2 separate regions of the Homo sapiens genome follow, and region 2 is linked to region 1. The links are contacts of gene promoters, found by promoter capture Hi-C in human tissues and cell types (Jung and others, 2019). All regions are on one chromosome and are shown on one strand. Each heading gives the region's core, a stretch centred on a gene start or on the middle of the fragment in contact. The rest is flanking DNA. Distances are from core to core; before and after follow the strand shown. Region 1 holds the start of OR10G9 (olfactory receptor family 10 subfamily G member 9). Region 2 has its middle 5.5 kb from the start of OR10G6.

Region 1 (3,275 bases), core at 522-3,021:
ACAGCCCCAAGTGATCTAGATATTTAAGAGATTTAATGTTTTATATTGAATCTTAACAAACATAATAAAATAGGCGCATGTGATAAGTGCATAAACTATTATATATGTAGCTGTAAATCGTACATTATCATTGCTGGATAGTAATCTATTCTGTGAATACACAATTTCTATTTGATTCATTGATAATATTTAAATATTAATAGCTTGCTATTTTTGCCCATTAAAAATAGTGTTTCTAGAAATGTTTTCCAATACATGTATGTAAATAGACAGATACATATACATACATGATGAAAACCTATATGTTAAATATGCTAAATGCTACAGACTTTCTTTTGTATACACGTTTGGATTTGTATAGACACATACAAATATACAGATACATTAAAACCAAAAAGAAATTTGAACAGCTACAGCCACAATTAGAAAAATGACCTCAAATATTTGTTGCTATTTTTGAACGATGTCTCCATAATGGTAAATTGTTAAGTTTGTGTGCAAAAAAAATCAAACAAAACACAAAACTTTTTATCAAGTTGTAAACATGAAGGACTCAACCATCTATCCCGGAGATTCGATGAAAATATTTTTTTAAATTAATATGAACCTATTGATGAGAAATGAATCAATAAATCAGAATATAAGCATGTTCCTCATACACATAAGTCTAGCTGTGAGGTTAAAACTGTCTTAGACAATCTGTGGAAGAATTATAACTGTGCAGGTGTTTTGGAATAATGTTTAACACTGAGAACTATACATATAATCAATTTCACATGAATAACTAAATTATATTACTATTTTTAAACAAACTAGTGTATCTACTTCCTAGTATTTATTCTCCCTGAGAATGTGCTACTTTGTCTCTCAGTTTCAACACAGCTTTCTTCACCTCCTTGTTTCTCAGGGTGTACACAACAGGGTTGAGAAGGGGTGTCAGCACAGTGTAGAAAATGGCCACAACTCCATCCACGACGTCCCTGGAGCCTGGTCTCAGGTAAATGAAAACACAGGGAACAAAAAAGCAAAGGACCACGATGCAGTGGGAGGCACAGGTCTGAAAGGCTCTGTGCCTCCCCTCTGAGGTGTGGATCCGCAGGATGGAACAGACGATGGACACATAAGACAGCACTATCAGGAGAAAGCAGCCCGAGGCCACTAGCCCAATGTCCACAAAGATGACCATCTCGTTGGCTGAGGTGTCTGCACAGGCCAGTTTCAGGATGGGCGGTGCATCACACAAATAGTGCTGGATCTGGTTGGGTCCACAGTAGGGCAAATGGAAAGTCAATATGGTCTGGACAGCAGAGTGCAGAGAGCCACTGAGCCAAGTGCTGGTGGCCAGGAGGGCACATCTGCTCCCACTCATCATGCTGGTGTACCTGAGCGGGTAACTGATGGCCAAGTAGCGATCATAGGACATGACTGTGTAGAGGAAACACTCGGTGCTCCCCAGGAAGTGGAAAAAATAGAGCTGAGCCACGCAGCTGTGGAAGGAGATAGCCCTGCCGCTTGGGGACACCAAGGTCATCAGCATTTTGGGCACCGTGACAGTGGAGAACCACATGTCAATGAAGGACAGGTTGGTGAGGAAGTAGTACATGGGGGTGTGGAGGTGAGAATCCACCCTGATCACCAGCAGGATGAGGAGGTTCCCCAGCACAGTGAGCACGTAAACCACCAGGAAGATTCCAAAGAGTGGGGCGTCCAGCCCTGGGGCATGGGGAAGGCCCGTGAGGATGAACGCTGTCACGAGGCTGGTCTTGGACATTTCTTCTCACCCTTGGTCTCTCTCCCTCTGGGGATATAAGGAGCACCCAGCATTTACCAATTAATTGATAACTGAGAAGTCATTCTCTATGTGAAAACCAGGTAGATAATTCTGGAGTTTTCATGGACTTTGCTTGTTACAAAGCTTCCTTCATAAAGCTAATGAAGTGATTTCCTAGTCTCTCTCTCTCTCTCTCTCTCTCTCTCTCTCTCTCTCTCTCTCTCTCTCTCTCTCTCTCTGTCACATACAAACACACACACAGAGACATACGCAGAATAAATTAGGAGAAACACATTGTCTCGATTTCAATGGGTGCATAAATTACCACAAACTTACTGGCTTAAAACATGCAAATTTATTGTCTCGCCCTTTCTGTGGGTCAGGTCAGCTGGGTTCCCTGTTCAGGGTCTCACCAGGTTTTAATCAATGTATCGCCAGGGGCTGCAATCTCATCTGAGGCTGGGATCATCTTCCAACCTTATGGGGGTTGTGTGCATGATTCAATTCCTTGTAGTTTTAGGACTGAGGTCCCAGTTTTCTTGCTGTTTGTTGGCAGGACATATCACTCTCACCTTACAGAGGTCCCCCTAGGTGCTAGAAAGTCCTAGCTACTTGGTCTTCTTAAAACACAACAGGTTACTTCTTTGAAACCAATGAGATAAACTCTCTCCAGTTTGCTATGACAAAATGTTATATAATGTTACATAATGCAGTCAAAGGGGTGATATCCCATCATATTAACAGGTCCCAGGCATACTCAAAGGAAGGTTATTAAACAGAAAGTGTATACCAGTGGGCAAGAATCTTGAAGGCTGCTTGGAATTCTATCTACCACATTCTATTTTCGCTGCCTTGCTCGTGGGAAAACTTAAAAAAAAAACACCAAGAATTTAATTATTAGTAGCAAGGAGTATTTGAAAACTGAACAGTACTAGTAAATCATTCTCTAGTTCCCTCTTATGTTATTTGGCATTACTAACATCACCTACTCACCGAGAAATTATAAGCATTAAATAAGATGATACATTTAAACACGTAGTACTGTGACTGGCAGGTAATAACTGCTCAATAAATCACAGTGAGTCTTACCACATTGTGCCTTGCAGCAGTATTATGGAATTGCTGTTTTTGATCTTAGAGAGAAAGAGAGTACATATATTCTTTCAGTGTTTTCAGAGAGTTCTGAATCTAAGAGCTAGGTCTTTTTGTACTATTGTATCCCTGATACAGTTACTGATGTCCTCACTACTGCCTGCTTTTAAAGGGCTTCTCCTAGGTCTCTCAGAGCAGGTAAGAATCTCAGCATAACTCTATAGTAGGATTCCCATGTCCTCCCAAATCATCCAGAGAGCACCAAGCTTCTTACGTGACTGCCCCCACCCCCATTTCTGTTACCCTAGAACACTTCCTATGTGGTTCTGAGAACATGGCATTCATATGTGCTCTCCCAAACACAATCTACTGGGTAGGTGCCAGCTGTCTTGCATTCTCCTTCTATCCTAGG
Region 2 (3,275 bases), core at 391-2,890, 33 kb after region 1:
GTCCCACTGAGTTCATAAATGTTCATGATCTGTGCTTTTTGAAAGGAGTATACAGACGGTCTCCAACTTAGGATGGCTCAACTTAATGATTGTGCAAAAGCATTCTATTTTTCATATTCAGTATAGTATTCAATGAATTTAATGAGATATTCAAAATTTTATTATTAAATAGGCTTTCTTTCGGATGATTTGGCCCAACTGTAGGCTAATGGAAGTGTTCTGAGCACATTTAGGATGGGCTAAACTGCGCTATGATGTTTGGTAAGTTAGGTATATTCAATGCATTTTCATCTTATGATATTTTTGACTTAGGATGGGTTTATCAGGACATTAATTCCATTCTAAGTTGAGGAGCATGGAGAAAAACACTCCTAGGAAAGAGATAAGAAAAGAGGTGTCATAGCAAAGTCTCAATTTTTTTGTCAGGCTTGACAGTCACTAGCCAGATTTTTCTCACCTACCATTTTTATGCTATACGCAGGTGGTGAAATACAGTAAGCATGATTTGTTCAAAAAATTATTTCTATTTGAATTTATTTGGTATTTTGACTATTTCATTGAGCTTAAAGGATTAGGCTAAAAATAATTGGGGGAAGTTTAGTCATGTTGATTTAAATTGTATGAACAGTATATGTATAACAGTATATGGTATAAATTGTATATGAACAGTCCAATATTGGAATTGACTTTTCTGTGAAGTAGTGATATTCTCATATTGAAAGGGTCATGTAAAATTCAGCGGTTTGAGTAACTGACTTTTAAAAAATTAAGATTTTATGTTATTTCACATACTATCCAGGGTTAATAGCAACTATTAATAGGACACTCTTTATGCATTATTATTTTCATTTTAAAGGTGTGGAATTGATGTATTTAGCAAGAGGAGAAGAGGAAGTGAGCAATCTTCCAAATATCCTTCAACCAGTAGTTGACAGTGACAGGACAATAAACCCAAGTCCATCTAACTTCATAGTTCATGCCATTTTTTGGCTCTCTTTCAAAGATATTTATGGAAAACATTCTTCTTCTTAGGGAACTATATCACATACACATAGAAAAGTGTAGAAGTATGCTAAGAGAGTTTCTGAACAGGCTACATATCAAAACACACTGTTAAATGCCACTGAGTTTACAGGGGAACCAAAGCATTCTTAGGGTAGAAAGACAACATGGAGAGGATAGGCTTGATCTTAACCTCGAATAGTAGCTTAGATTCTTGCTACTCAAAGTGCAATTCATGGAACCACATAATGGAAATCTCTGGGCACTTATTAGAAAGACAGAAATCTCAGTCCCTACTCCAGACCTGTTGAATTAGGATTTGCAGCTTAACAAGAGTCCCAGGTGACTCATGTGCACACTAAAGTCCGAGAAGCTTTAGAGATGTTATCAGATAAAAATGAAGTTGATTTCTTCAAGGGGGGATTGGGTAGGGTGAGGAGAACAAGAGGAGATTAACAGTAAATTTAGGAGAGGTTGAGAAAATCTACTTGCATAAAGAAATGCTTATTGAACAGAGAAATGTACTTGAGTAGAGAAAAGTTGTAGGGGATAAGAATAAATGGATACCAATCACATTTTAGAAGTTTTGAGTTATAAATTGAGAATTTTGTGTTGCACAGTAAATCAGTATGTGAGATTGAGATTATTAGCATTTGTGGGAGGGGACCAGTGAGATAAACTCTTTTGAAATTTGATCAGTCAATGTTATGCAGGATGAAGTGATTCATTAAAGGGGAGAGGTGAGAGTTGAGAAGACCTTGCAGGAGATTATAATTATAATCCCTGAGACATAATGAAATGAGAGACTCATTATGAAATGAGTCTTTTATGACCATTACCCTCAGTCTCTCATTTCGTTATGAGAATGGCTTATGATGGGTTTCATCTCATTATGAAATGAGAAACTAAGGATAATGGTTATAAAAAATTAAATGCAGATACAAATAAGACTTACATTTCAAGAAAAAGGCTATTCATGTTTTTTAAAAAACAGAAAAATTCAAATGGAATTCTGATATCTAGCTTTACCCATTGAAGAGAATAGAAAGGGTGTGTGTAGTAAGACAAGTCCTTTTTTTTTATTTTTAAAAAATGTTTTATTAAAACTTTAAGCAACTTAATAATGTCAAGATTTTTAAAAAGTATACTCTAATCCCATTTCCTGATCATATCAATTTCTTACATTTCCCCAACTTTGGCTGAAATTTTAAGAATTGTGTTTTTTGGGGGGGGGTTGCATTCTTTTTATTATTATTATACTTTAAGTTTTAGGGTACATGTGCACATTGTGCAGGTTAGTTACATATATATACATGTGCCATGCTGGTGTGCTTCACCCATTAACTCGTCATCTAGCATTAGGTATATCTCCTAATGCTATCCCTCCCCCCTCCCCCCACCCCACAACAGTCCCGAGTGTGATGTTCCCCTTCCTGTGTCCATGTGCTCTCATTGTTCAATTCCCACCTGTGAGTGAGAATATGTGGTGTTTGGTTTTTTGTTCTTGCGATAATTTACTGAGAATGATGATTTCCAATTTCATCCATGTCCCTACAAAGGACATGAACTCATCATTTTGTATGGCTGCATAGTATTCCATGGTGTATATGTGCCACATTTTCTTAATCCAGTCTATCATTGTTGGACATTTGGGTTGGTTCCAAGTCTTTGCTATTGTGAATAATGCCGCAATAAACATACGTGTGCGTGTGTCTTTATAGCAGCATGATTTATAGTCCTTTGGGTATATACCCAGTAATGGGATGGCTGGGTCAAATGGTATTTCTAGTTCTAGATCCCTGAGGAATTGCCACACTGACTTCCACAATGGTTGAACTAGTTTACAGTCCCACCAACAGTGTAAAAGTGTTCCTATTTCTCCACATCCTCTCCAGCACCTGTGGTTTCCTGGCTTTTTAATGATTGCCATTCTAACTGGTGTGAGATGGTATTTCACTGTGGTTTTGATTTGCATTTCTCCGATGGCCAGTGATGGTGAGGATTTTTTCATGTGTTTTTTGGCTGCATAAATGTCTTCTTTTGAGAAGTGTCTGTTCATGTCCTTCGCCCACTTTTTGATGGGGTTGTTTTTTTCTTGTAAATTTGTTTGAGTTCATTGTAGATTCTGGATATTAGCCCTTTGTCAGATGAGTAGGTTGCGAAAATTTTCTCCCATTTTGTAGGGTGCCTGTTCACTCTGATGGTAGTTTCTTTTGCTGTGCAGAAGCTCTTTAGTTTAATTAGATCCCATTTGTCAATTTTGGCTTTTGTTG

What was found. The method cuts DNA at HindIII sites, captures the fragments that hold promoters and counts their contacts. A contact is called where the count stands out against the background at its distance.
Region 2: a fragment that was not itself captured here is called in contact with the fragment with the promoter of OR10G9 in region 1 in 1 of the 25 tissues and cell types used here (H1 embryonic stem cells).

Annotation. Positions count from the first base shown.
Region 1 is chr11:124,021,509-124,024,783 of GRCh38, reverse strand. It overlaps OR10G9 (olfactory receptor family 10 subfamily G member 9), which reads right to left and starts at 1,771. Exons shown (of 1, transcript NM_001001953.1): 1 at 836-1,771. The coding sequence starts at 1,771. The coding sequence ends at 836. The HindIII fragment of the contact is 4,788 bases long and covers 1-2,522 here.
Region 2 is chr11:123,988,028-123,991,302 of GRCh38, reverse strand. No RefSeq gene overlaps it. Among named protein-coding and RNA genes, the nearest start is that of OR10G6, 5.5 kb to the left of the region's middle. The HindIII fragment of the contact is 7,262 bases long and covers 1-3,275 here.